2 separate regions of the Homo sapiens genome follow, and region 1 is linked to region 2. Evidence: promoter capture Hi-C in 16 types of primary human blood cells and fetal thymus (Javierre and others, 2016). All regions are on one chromosome and are shown on one strand. The core of a region is centred on a gene start or on the middle of the fragment in contact, and the rest is flanking DNA. Distances in the headings are between cores, read along the strand shown.

Region 1 (7,320 bases), core at 3,819-6,318, 510 kb before region 2:
AAGCATCAGAGAAGAAATAGTGAAGGTAAAATAACTTTATTTTCCTTATTAATTGGTCGAACAGATAACAGTTTGTTCAAAATAATAATAGCAACAGTATATCCAGTTATGTATGCTTATGTGTAAGCACATATGCTTATGTGTGCTTATGTATAACTGAAATGAGTGATAGCTATTATAGAAGGGACCAGAGGAAATAATTAGAATATTTTATTATTACAAGGTATTCAGACTACCCATGAAGCAGTATAGTGTTATTTGAAAGTGGACTTAGATTAGTTGTAAGTACATATTGCAAACTCTCTGGCAACCAGTAAAAACAGTTACAAAAAAGAGGTATAACTGATATATTAGGAAAGGAGAGAAAATAAAATCATATAAAATGCTCAAAGCCACGAAAGGTAGAAAAAGAGTGGAAGACAAAAATCAGAACAAAGAACAAGGGCAATGAATAGAAAACAGTAGCAAATATGGTAGCTGTTAATTCAACTATATAAATAATCCCTGTGAACATCAGCCTTCGAAATGCACCAATTAAAAGACAGAGATTGACAAAGTGGATCAAAAAACAAGACCCAAATATATATTGTCTCAAGAAATGCACAATGAATATGATGACACATACAGATTAAATAGATGGAGAATTATATGCCATGCTAACACCAATCAAAAGAAAAGAATAGCTGTATTAATTTCAGAGAGTAGACTTCAGTGCAAGGAAAGTTATCAGGAATAAAAGGGGTATTCCAAATGATGAAGGGTCAATTTTTCCAGAGGACGTAACAATCATTAACATGTATGTGCCTAACAAGAGAGCATCAACATATGTGAGGTGAAAACTGATAGAATTGCAAGGAAAAATGGATGAATCCACCATTATAGTAACAGACATCAACATCTCTGTATCACAACTGACACATTCAGCAGGCAGAAAACCAATAAGTATGTAGTTGAAGTCGATAACACCATAAATCACCTGGTATGGTGGATATCTATAGACTACTTAATGCAACATTAGCAGAATATACCTTCTCAAATTTTTATGAAACATTCACCAAGCTAGACTCCATTATGGACCATAAAACATACCTCAACAAATATAAAAGAATAGAAATCATACAAGTATGCTCTTAGACCAAATGGAATTAAATTAGAAATTAGTAACAAAAAAGCTGGAAAATCTTCAAGTACTTGGAGAATAAATAACATAATTCCGAATAACACATGTATCAATGAAGAAGCATCAAAGAAATTTAAAAATATTTTAAATGAAAATACAGTGTATTAAAATTTGTGGGATGCAGTGAAAGCAGTGCTCAGGGGAAATTTGTAGTATTGAATGCATGTATTAGAAAAGAAGAAAGATCTAAAATCTATAGGCTTTCACTGTAGGAAACTAGAAAAAGAAGAGTAAATTAAATCCAAAGTGAGCATTAAAAAAATAAAAAGTAATGCAGAAATCAATGAAAGTGAAAATAGAAAATCAGTGGAGAAAATCCATGAAGCCAAAAGCTGGTTCTTTGAAAAGATCAATAAAACTGACAAGACTCCAGCTAGGCTAAGAAAAAAAAAGAGAGGAAACAAATTACTAAAATCAGAAATGAAAGAGGGGACATTGCTATAGATGCCATGGACCTTAGAAGAATAATAAAGAAATACTATGAACAACTCCATGCCCACAAATTTGATAATCTAGAGAAAATGGACCAATTCCTTGAAAGATACAATTTGCCAAAACTTACAGAAGAAATAGACAATCTGAATAGGCCCATATCTATTTTAGAAATTGAATCAATAACAACCTTCTAAAACTAAAGCATTAGGTCAAATTGAGTTCAGCAGTGAATTCTGCCAAACATTGAAGAAATTTTACCAATTATTTAGAGTATCTTTTAGAAAATAAAAGCACAGGGAATACTTGATAATTCATTCTATGAGGCCATCATAAACCTAATACCAAAGCCAGACAAAGACATGACAGAAAATTATAGACCAATATGTCTCATAAACATAGATGCAAAAATTCTGAAATTTTTCAAATTAAATCCTACAATGTATCAAAAGCATTATACATCATGACCAAGTGAGATTCATCCCAGGTATGCGAGACTGATTCAACGTTCAAAAATCAATTAATGTAATTCATCACATCAACAGGCTAAAAAAGAAAAACCACATAATCATATCAATAGACAAAGAAAAAGCATTTAACAATGTCCAACACCCATTTATGATAAAAAAAAAACTCTCAGTAAACTAGGAATAGAGAGGAATTTACTCAACTTGGTAAAGAACATTCACAAAAACCTGCAGCTAACATTATACTGAGTGGTGAGAAACTACAAGTTTTCCCACTAGATCAGGATTAAGGCAAATAGTTCCCCCTCATCACTGCTTTTCAACATCATACTGGAAGTCCTAGCTAATGTAATATGACAAGGAAAAGGAATAAAAGGTTTGCATAACAGGAGAGAAAAATAAAAACTTTTTGTTCACAGATGACGTGACTGTCTCTGTAAAAAATTTAAAAGAACTGACAGAAAAACTTCTGGGACAGCTAAGCAATTATAGCAAGTTGCAAGATACAAGAAAAATCAATCACTGTCATATATATCAGCAGTGAACAAGTGGAATTTGAAAATAAGAGCACAATATAATTTACATTAGTATCCAGAAAAATGAAATGCTTACATATAGATCTAGCAAAATATGTAAAAGATTTATATGAGGAAATGTACAAGTCTCAGATGAAAGAAATCAAAGAACTAAATAAATGTAGAGAGATTCCATATTCATGGGTAGGAAGACAATATTGTCAAGATGCCAATTCTTTTCACCTTAATCTATAGATTCAGTGCAATTCCAATCAAAATCCCAACAGGGCGATTTTGCTGGATTTCCATGGAAATTTACAAATTAATTCTGAAGTTTCTGCTGAGAAAAAAAATGTTGGAAGACTGCCCAACTTTAAGACTTACTATAAAGCTGCAGTAATCAGGACAGTGTGGTATTGGTAAGAGAACAGACACTTAGGTCGATGGAATAGAATAGAGAGCCCAGCAGTAGTTCCAATACAAGTATATTCAATTGAGCTTTGACAAAGGAGCAAAGGCAATACAATGGAGTAAGGTAGTGTTTTCAGCAAACGATATTGAAACAACTGGACATCCACATGTAAAAAATGAATCTATATACAGAACCTACACCCTCCACAAAAATTAACTCAAAGTGAATCACCAACCTAAATGTAAAATGCAAAATTATGAAACTACTAGAAAATAACATCGAAGAAAATCTAGATAACCTTGGGTTTGGTGATGACTTTTTAGATATAATGCCAAAGGTACATTCTATTTAAAAAGTATGGGTAAGCTGGACTTCATTAAAATTTAAAATTTCTGCTCTGTGAAAGACACTTTTAGTAGAATGAAAAGATAAGCCACAGACTGGAAGAAAGTATTAGCAAAAGACACATCTGATAAAGTAACGTTATCCAAAATATATGAATAACTCTTTTTTTGTAGTTCTTTTTTTTTCTTTTTTTTAAATTATACTTTAAGTTTTAGGGTACATGTGCACAACGTGCAGGTTAGTTACATATGTATACATGTGCCATGTTGGTATGCTGCACCCATTAACTTGTCATTTAACATTAGGTATATCTCCTAATGCTATCCCTCCCCCCTGCTCCCACCCCACAACAGGCCCGGGGTGTGTGATGTTCCCCTTCCTGTGTCCATGTGTTCTCATTGTTCAATTCCCACCTATGAGTAAGAACATGCGGTGTTTGGTTTTTTGTCCTTGCGATAGTTTGCTAAGAATGAATAACTCTTAAAACTAAACATTCAGAAAAAAGACAACTCTATTAAAAAATGGGCGAAAGACTTTGGCAGACACCTCACCAAAGAAGATACATAGATGGCAAATGAGCATATGAAAAACTGCTCAACATCGTATGTCATCAGGAAAATAAAACTTAAAACAACAATGAGACGTCATTATATACTTATTAGAACCACCAAAATCCAGAACATTAACACCAAATGCTGACAAGGATGTGGAGTAATGGGAACTCTCATTCATTGTTGTTGGTATAGCCTTGTAAGGCAGTTTGGCAGTTTCTTACAAAATTAAACATATTCTTACTGTATGATCTAGCAGTCAGACTCCTTGGTATTTACTCAATAAGATGAAAACTTATGCCCACGCAAAAACCTGCACATGGATGTTTATAGCAGTTTTATTCATAATTGCCAAAAGTTGGAATCAACAAAGATGTGTTTCAGTACGTGAATAGATAAACTGTGGTACATCCAGACAATGAAATACTATTCAGTACCAAAAATGAGCTATCAGGCCATGAAAAGACATGATGAAGGAAGCTTAAAATGCATATAACTAAGTGAAAGAAGTCAATCTGAAAAGACTACATACTGTATTAGTTTAAATATTTGATAGTCTGGAAAAGACAAAACGAAGGAGACTATAAAAAGGTCAGTGGTTGCCAGAAGTTAGAAGGAAGGGATGATAAATAGGCAGAACACATATTTTTAGAGCAGTGAAATTATTCTGTATGATACTATAATGGTGGACACATGTCTTTATACATTTGTCCAAACCTATAGAATGTACAACGCCATATGTAAAACCTAATGTAAATTATGGACTTTGGGTGATAATGTGTCAAAGTAGATTCATTGGTTGTAACAAATGTACTACTCTGGGGGGGGGGCGGATATTAATAGTCAGGGAGGCTGTGAGTGTGTATACAGAGTTCTTCCTGTTCAGTTTCGTTGTGTACCTGAAACTGTTCTAAAAAATAAAGCTGGTTAAAAAAAGTCACATACCAATAAGTTTTAAGTTTATCATGTAAGTGAGGTTTGAAAGAATTCTGATGGGAGTATGTTTTTAGAAAATCCCTAATATCACTCTGTAAGGAACAGACAAGAATTATGGAGACCTCCTCTTTCAGGTAGGGAATATCATAACCTGCTTCATTTGTCATTGTTAAAATGTTTATCTTGGGAATCTTTTGAATATTTCATGATGAAGTATTCATGCCTTTATCTGGGACACTGGAATGTTATCAGATCCTTTCTCTTTAGCAAAATTACTCATGCTCATATTTTTAATTTGTTGGATAAAAAATCTACTAAATAGGTAACCTTACATTTAGGAGCCATGAATGTATTAGTCCCCTGGCACAGGTAAATATTATCAACTATAACCATTAAACACCAAGGTGTGTGTTAATAAAATAAGCTGCAATATGTTGTGAATGTTTCTCAAGTTATATGTTGTGTTATAATTCACCGTGAGTCAGTATTGTTAACACAGTCCGATACTGAGTCTTTTAGCCAAGTCTTTCTTGTAGTGCTCAGATGAACTTAAATAGAAAAATGCATCCCATCCAGAAACCATTTTACCACATCTATCTTAAGTTTGTCGTGAGGTCTTTCATTCTCATTTTCTGAGCATGTTTTAGGGAATACTTAGTGCATTACCATTTCTCTAGGGTTCAATTTGAGTGATGGCACCATGTGATATGAGTGTGATCTCAGTAGTGATTTTATTTTGGGATGGCAGATGAATGTGGGCATGAACAGAGCCTATGGGAACAGAGAACTGATTTTCCAGTAGTGAACAAACTGTTATAGAACAGGCAGCTTAGGATGGATTATAGAGACTGTAGAGAAGACACCACCTGTTCATGTGGAAGCATATTTGGAAACTGATCACCAAAGAGAAGCTTATCTCATCCTATTTTGACTCTATTCACAGTTGACATTGACCTGCATGAGATTTTGTGACAAGGAAAAAATTATCTATTTATCTAATCTATCTATCTACCTACTTACATACCTATCTCTATCTATCTATCAATTAATCATCTATCTATATTGGTAAGTGGTAGTGATAATGCAGGACATCTGGGCTACCTCTAAGTAAGGAGAAAATTTGAAATACAAGACTTAGTGATAGCTGGAAGGCATGTCTTAAAAGTGAGTGATATATGTTTTCTATGTGAAGGCAATTGTAAAATGTGAATGAAGTACATAAAATAACATTGTATGCAAGGAAAGATGATGATTATTTAGATATGGGGAAGTAATTACTGAAGAGGACCGTAAGTGGCCAATTCCAACAGAAGCCAGTGAGTGAGTCAGCCATGGGATGTATTTGCAATTTGGATCATATAAATGTCAAGTTCAAAGTTCTGAGGGCTTAAATGAGGCCCAAATGAAGACAACCTGTTTTTGTGAGATCAATTTAAAAACCAGAATACTGGCTTCCTGTTATCTGAGGTTGATGCATGAGCCCCTGAGGAAAGAGACAAGGGTGGGGGAACCACTGGAATTCAGGAGGCCTTGACCATCTTCACATCAACAGATATTTACCTTATCCCTTCATGCATGGAATCCACCAACCATGCCTGAAAACACCAAGTACTGACCTCTAGATGGTAGCATGATTAGGGAATGGTTTCATGTGATGCTTCAATGTGAGTTGTGACATTCGGGTCACCATCTATACCATCTATAATGGAGTGAGAGACATCCAAATGTATATACTGGTGAGAATCTGACAGTGTGGGGCTAGTATTTGTCCAGAGGACACAAAAATGCCCCACTTTTACCCTACACTGCTGCTCTGTCTCTTCCCAGGGTTTTCTCTGAAGGAGACACGCACACAAGGACCCTGAATATAATTCACGGGGCCAATTCCCATGACCCTCAATGCAGAGATCTCAGGCCAAGCTGGGTTGAAGCACAGGCCCAGACTCAAGAAGGAAGCAGGGTCTCTCCAACTCTCTAACTCTGCATCTTATAACCAGTTGACCCCTAGTGTGTGGAAAACAGAGTCCCAAATCTCCAGTAAGAAGAAAGGAATAGGGAGTAATGTGGCAGAGCCCAGCCTTCATAGTAGGCACTGGCTCAGCTTATCACTTTGGTATTGTGAGAGGGAAGAGCATGGCCATGTCCTACACGCATGGGTGTCACATTGGAAGGTGGTACTGCTGATAGTGCTCCTGAATCTGACCCATCACATCAGTCTTCCCTTGTCCAAGGGAGGAGTGACAAAAGGGCTTGGGAGAAAAGCTGTTTTCTGTAAGATTAGGAATACTGAAAAGAGAAACCTGCCCCTACCTCCAGTGACCTGGAACTATAGATAGAAACTGGTCTGAACATAGAGAAAGTAGGATGTGTGTAAAAAATTGATTTTGCTATTAAAATCTCAAATATATCAAATCTGAAAACTTAAAATGTGGGTCAGTTGACAAAACCAAAGGTAAATTCACAAAAGGAAATTTTCAATAGA
Region 2 (6,476 bases), core at 2,007-4,506:
GACCCTGTCTTTTAAAAAAATAAAGAGTCTTGTAAACCTATGGTCCAAATCTCCTATAATTTGGCCATGCTTAACGTGATGGGACCTGATGGAATACAGTAAGTCCTCACTTAACATAGTCCACTGGTTCTTGGAAATTGTGACTTCAAGTGAAATAACATCTAACAAAATGAATTTTTCCCCTTATCAATGTCATAACTAAACAACATTGAACAATGTCATAACTAAACAACATTGAACAATGTCATAACTAAACAACATTGAACAAGGTCATAACAACATTGAACAATGTCATAACAACATTGAACAATGTCATAACAACATTGAACAATGTCATACATTGTGCATTGTTGTACGATGTACACCTGCTGTACATTGTTTTGCTTAATGTTGTAGTCTTCAAGAACCTATGGATAATGTTACATGAACTACTGCTATACAAATAAAGACGGCCTGAGCCTTTCATTTTCAAATCACAAGTGGGGAAGCAGAAGAGCTCCTTTATTGACTGGACTTGGACAGAGAAAACAAAGCCCACTGGGAAGAGCCTTAACATACGTTTTTTTCTCAAAATTAAAATTATTCCTTTAATACACACTTATGCATTGTTTGTAAATTCCTCACTTAAAACAGTAAGTGGTGAAGAGTTTTTAAGTTTTTAAGTGATAGAACATATTCAACTATTTGAGAAAGTAATAAAGCTAATTGAATAGCATTACATAATGACATTTAAACATTATTCAAAAGCATTTCAAATAACCGAAGAGTTTCAAATGGAGTATTTTATTCACATGTTAGTTATCATTTTAACACACACACAAACACTGACACACTCTGGTTTGCGTGGAACAAGGGTGGTCTAAATATCCTAAAAGAAAATGAAAAATTAAAGTACATTAATTTTTCATTACTGTAGGCAATTACGTCCACATCACTTACAAAGCTATTACTGATATTGTCCAAGGAAGCAGAGTGGTACAGAGGAAGGAAACTTGAGGGTAAATTCATCAGTGACATAACAGATCTCAACATGAGAAAGCTGACAAAACATGAATTTTTGCTGTGAAATTTCTCTTTGCAAAATATGAAGAAAAGTCAATCAATGGGCAGTAAATAAGAGTAGGTGGTGAACTTTTGCTGTCAATTCTCCTCACAGTATCTTGCAGAGGCATCAAGAAAATTGCTTAGTCCTTCTCTGGGACCAATTTCAGAACTTTTCCAATTGCAATGGTCTTACCCTCATCTCTTAAAGTAAAACGACCCATCTGAGGAAAATCTTTGAACGTCTCGAGGCAGATGGTTCCTGCTGTCCTTAAACGAGCAATGCATACTTGATCTTGTTTCACGAAGCGGGGTCGTGTCTTACTTTTTTCTCCTGATTTTTTGTCTACCAAGGAGATTAACGCTGTTATCTCAACTTCCTCAATACAAGTATGAATGTGCAGCACCGCATTATAACCTGGGCAGATGATGGATTTGTGCTCAATAATCACTATCTGAACATCAAACGTGCGTCCAGAATGGCAGAGGTTACTAGGATCACAAAGTATGAATCCTGGAAGAATCTCTTCTTCTTCAATTCCCTTCAGTCTGATTTTGAGGTTTTCACCTGGGGCTACAAAATCAGTTTCAGTATCATCAGAAAGTATTCCAAGAACTTCTACATTGTGCTTGTTTGGCATCATCACGAGCTGCTGGCCTTTAAAAATGGACCCGGATTCCAGCTTTCCCAGGACCACAGTGCCCATATCTTTGTACTTATCCACAATTGGCAGTCTTATTGGTCCATCAATTGATCTGTTGAAGTTTGGCAAGTTATCCAAATACGGAATAAATGGTAATCCAGTGTACCAAGGGCAGAAATCTGACTGCTCTTTAATATTTGCTCCGGTCAGTCCTGAGCAGGGCATAAAGTGAATGTCCTTTTTTGGACTGAAGCCTACTTTTTTCAAAAAGGGCACCAGTTTTTCTTTACATTCTTCATATCTCTCGATGCTCCAATTTACTGTGGGATCATCCATCTTATTAATAAGCACTATTAAATGTTTTACCCCTGCCGTTTTTGCCAACATCGCATGTTCTCTTGTCTGTCCACCTTTTTCAAATCCAGTTTCAAACTCTCCTTTCCTGGCAGAGATGACCAGCACAGCCAAATCAGCTTGAGAAGCACCACCAATCATATTTGGGACAAAACTCTTGTGGCCAGGGGCATCTAAAATTGTGAAATGTTTCCTTTCTGTTTCAAAATAGGCACGACCCACTTCGACTGTTTTACCCTTGTCTCGTTCCTCCTGATTTGTATCTAAGGCCCAGGACAAATACCAGGTTTCTCTGTTTTTTTCCTTAGCTTCTCTTTCATATTTCTCCAGTGTTCTTTTGTCAACCATTCCAGTCAAAAACATTATCTGTCCTCCGATGGTTGACTTGCCAGCGTCTACATGGCCAATGAATACTACATTTACGTGTTCTTTCTTAGGTGCACCTGAGGGTACGATCACAGATTTGGATTTTCTTATTTCCTCTTTTTCCTCCATCATTTCCTGGCCACTTTCTTCTGGGGGCCCTGAATCTCCCGAGGAACCACCCCCAGGCTCGGCTTCACTTACTTCTTTACTGTGCTCCCATGATTCTTCTAGGGCCATTTCCACCTCTCCATTTTCTACAACAGGTTCTGAAAGTTCCATGGTAACGGCTGAATTGGAACCTTCAAGCGACACTAACGGTTCCTCTCGGGAAGGTTCCACAGGTGCCCCCCGTCCCATCCTTTTACCTTGAGGGTATCCCGCGCCGGTGCAGGTTTCATCGTTGCTGCCGGAGCCGGCCGGGAGGGTGGGCGGCTGAGTCGGGCCCCGCAGGAAGGACGGCACGAACTCCGCGGCGTGTACGTTAGGCACGAAGGGCTTGGCGTTGACGTTGAGCTTACGGCTGAAAGCCGAGCTGAGGGGCTCGCGCTGGGCCTCGGCCACCGCAGAGGAGACTCCATCCCCGCTCGGGGCCGACCCCGGGGATTCCATGTCCACCTGGTCCCAGCAATCGGGCGCCGAGTCGCTGCTGCTGCTGCCCGAATCCATGGTCTCGGAACTTGCTGTGTGGCAGTGAGGGAGCGGGCTCAACAGGCCAGAAGAGCGGGCTCCGCCGGCGGGGTTAAGGCAGCAAGAGCGAAGGGCCAAGGGGTAGCGACACGAACCTTAGCTGCACCGCGGAGGCAGCTAAGCGCCGATGCTGCATTCGCAACTGCGGCGGCAGCAGCAGATATGGCGGCTCAACACTCTCCTCTTGTGTGTGAGCGGATCTCCTCCCCCAAACCCCAACCACTTCCGACTCCTCCACCCCCGACCCAACGCCGGGCGTGGATTGACCCCTCGCTGCTATCCGTACGCTTGGCTTCCTTACTTCTTCTTAGCCACGGGCTAAGTCCAAAAGTATTATTTTTTAAAACGAAAATTTCCATTCACTTTTTTGTTCACACAGTCTGGCAGAGCAATTTGACCACAATCTGATGATTAAACCTAGACAGGAACACATGGTATACAATTCTACCAAAAGATTCAAGTAAAAGTGATCATTTCTATTGAACAAATGGGAGGCAAGATAAGGGTTAACTATACAGAAATTCAGAAACCCAGCAACTGAAGGGAGAGGCAAGGAATGGGTAGGGAGGGACTCATGAAATATATGAGTCTGTAGCCGAACTTAGGAAATGCAACTTAAGATCACTCATTAATTTGAAATCCACAGGCCTTTTGATTTTCCCTTTCCAGTGGGCCCCCATAAGCCTGTAACTTCTGCTGATGGCTTCTATAGTTTAAGGATAGGGTTACAACTTCTTTTCATGTTAAGCACCCTGGCTGTCTGAGGGGAGAGAATTTCCAAGGAGATCCTTGTTCCAGTGAAGCTTCCAGTCACTTCATATGCAGATGCCTGCACAATGGCTGGCCTGCCATTCAATGGTGGATCACGTAGACAAGCACAGGACTCAGATCACTCTTGTTTTACCAACCAACTGAATTCTGGGTTTATCTGCACTACTCCCCAGCACCTCCCTAGTACATCCTGCATCCACAGGCCTCGGGTTTTCCTGCTTCATTCCGGGGGGCCTGGAATCCTACTCACTGCACTGGCTTTGCTCTAAGAAACAATCAGTGTCATGTTGAACCCCTCTACAGTTTATGGTAATGAGACAGGGCTGTAGGTGTCAGCCTAATTAAACCAATTAAGACTTCTGAGATGAACAAAGACCTTAAGACCCTAATCAAAAGAATCTCACTCTCAGAAAGTGTTAACAGTTGAGTCAAAGCCTCAGCGACCTTGTTTGTAAATTAATTTAGTGCAAACTGACATAGAAAATACAAACTTATTCTCTGAATCTGTTTTTAGTCTTCATGTACTCAAATCTGTCACCTTTTGCTTTTATGAATTCAGGTTTTGTGACATACCTAGAAAGACTATTCAGTCCAAACAATCTGCTTAGTACAAGATGGTGTCACATAGATGGATTTATTTTTTTATTTTGAGACAAAGTTTCACTTTTGTTGCCCAGGCTGGAGTGCAGTGGCATGATCTCAGCTCACTGCAACTTCTGCCTCCTGGGTTCAAGCAATTCTCCTGCCTCAGCTTCCTGAGTAGCTGGGATTACAGGCGTCCGCCACCAAGCTCAGCTAATTTTTCTTAATATATATTTTTAGTAGAGACAGGGTTTCACCATGTTGGCCAGACTGGTCTTGAACTCCTGACCTCAGGTGATCCACCTGCCTCGGCCTCCCAAAGTGCTGGGATTACAGGCATGAGCCACCACGCCTGGCCTCATAGTTGGATATTTAAATCCAACAACAAAGCAAAATATTATAAAACCAAGTACCTGATTATAACTTGAGAATTGTGTTCTCCAGACTTTAGGGGTAGGAAAAAAGACAGACTTGGACCCTTGATGTTTTCACTCTGGGGCTGCCACTATTATACTAGCTCTGTACTGTTTCCACACCTTCATTCTTTTTGCCTCCGGTTATGGATTAATTATTTACAGTGACATAAAGAGAATGTGCACACCTATTCACAATAAACAGGAAGAACTGAGAGGTAGAATGTGCAGAGAGACCCTCCACACAAGTGCTGGAGCCTTCTTGGACATTGTGTGAACCTAGAATGGACATTTCTGGGAGAACCTGTCAAGGTTTTGGCAGCCGTGTTCACATAAGGTAATTCATGCAAGGAAGCAGGAGACATCTGGGATTTTTCCTTCACCTGGGTCGAATGCATTGGTCATGAACATATTGGTATGACTGCTACTTAGTGATATCTCAGAGAACAGAGGATACTTCACTGTTAGAACGATAAAGGAGAAGTCAGAAATAGTCTGTGAATGTCCTCATAATCCATCATTCATGAGGTTCCAGGGGAGGCAGTTCAACGCAAGAGAGAGAAGCACTGACCAGATTGTGTCCAGAGAGATTGGCCTTGGACAAAAATCTTTTGGTTTGTGTGATGGGATGCTTGTCTCCAGTCTTTCTGCCTAAGAGTTCATCAGTAAATGAGAGAATTTTCCTCACCAAAGAGGAAAATTTAAAAAAGAGTGTAGGTGATATCCAACCATTGCTTAATTCAATCTTTTTCCTCCTTTAAAAATCTTTTTTATTGTAAAATATAGCACAAACACAGAAAGTCACATTAAAAATTATAGGTTATTGACTTATGAGAAAGGAAACACACTTGTAACAACCATCCAAGTCAAGAGAAATTTGCCAGCCAGCCCAGAAGGCTTCCTTGTGCCCTGTTCAATCACAAATGACTTCCTCCACCTCTCAATGTAACTGCTATTGTGACATTTATGGTAATAACCTATACGATTTTCCGTATAGTTTTATTACACAAATGTGTACACTCAGACACTACAGTTCAATTTGGCCTGCTTTTTTGATATTTCTTTTAAGTCTTTTTTATCTCTGGATACCCAACCTATCTTCCCCTTTTTCATGTCATTTATTTATTGAGGAAAGTGGATGATGTGACTGGTAGAGAGGTTTTTTTGTTTGTTTTTTTGTTTTTTTACATTCTCAGCTTTGCTGACTGTATGTCTATGGTAGAGTTTAGAATATTCCTTTGTTCTCTGTATTTCCTGTTTATCAATAATTAAATCTATGAGCTTGATCAGATTCAGGTGCAATTTTTTAACAAGAATACTTCAAGGGAATTTTGATTATTTCCATCAAGAGGCACATGAGGTCGGGTTGTGACTCTTTTTACAGTTAGCCACAATTATTGATACTTGTTTAGAGACATATCATTAGAGGTTGCAAAATTGTGATATTGCACTTCTGTCATTCTTTCTGTTTTTATTAACTGGAGTGCTGTTCCAAAAAATTTACCTTCAACAGTTTTGTTACTTTCAGATATAGATTGCAAAGGAAATGCAGGAAAAGTGCTTGATTCTTTCGTGTTATTTAGGAGCTTTAAAAAATAATGAGTTGGTTCCCTAGAAT

Evidence for each region. Contacts are between HindIII fragments. The CHiCAGO score rates a contact against its expected background, and 5 or more counts as called.
Region 1: a contact is called between a fragment that was not itself captured here and the fragment with the promoter of GSPT2 in region 2, in 4 of 17 cell types (non-activated CD4 T cells, naive CD8 T cells, total B cells and 1 more). The highest score is 9.7, in non-activated CD4 T cells.

The regions. Positions count from the first base shown.
Region 1 is chrX:52,250,242-52,257,561 of GRCh38, reverse strand. The region is part of intron 1 of LOC105377209 (a long non-coding RNA gene); the gene reads left to right. Among named protein-coding and RNA genes, the nearest start is that of SNORA11D, 63 kb to the right of the region's middle. The HindIII fragment of the contact is 1,367 bases long and covers 4,385-5,751 here.
Region 2 is chrX:51,740,222-51,746,697 of GRCh38, reverse strand. GSPT2 (G1 to S phase transition 2) reads right to left here and starts at 3,256. Exons shown (of 1, transcript NM_018094.5): 1 at 466-3,256. The coding sequence starts at 3,071. The coding sequence ends at 1,185. The HindIII fragment of the contact is 6,668 bases long and covers 1-3,897 here.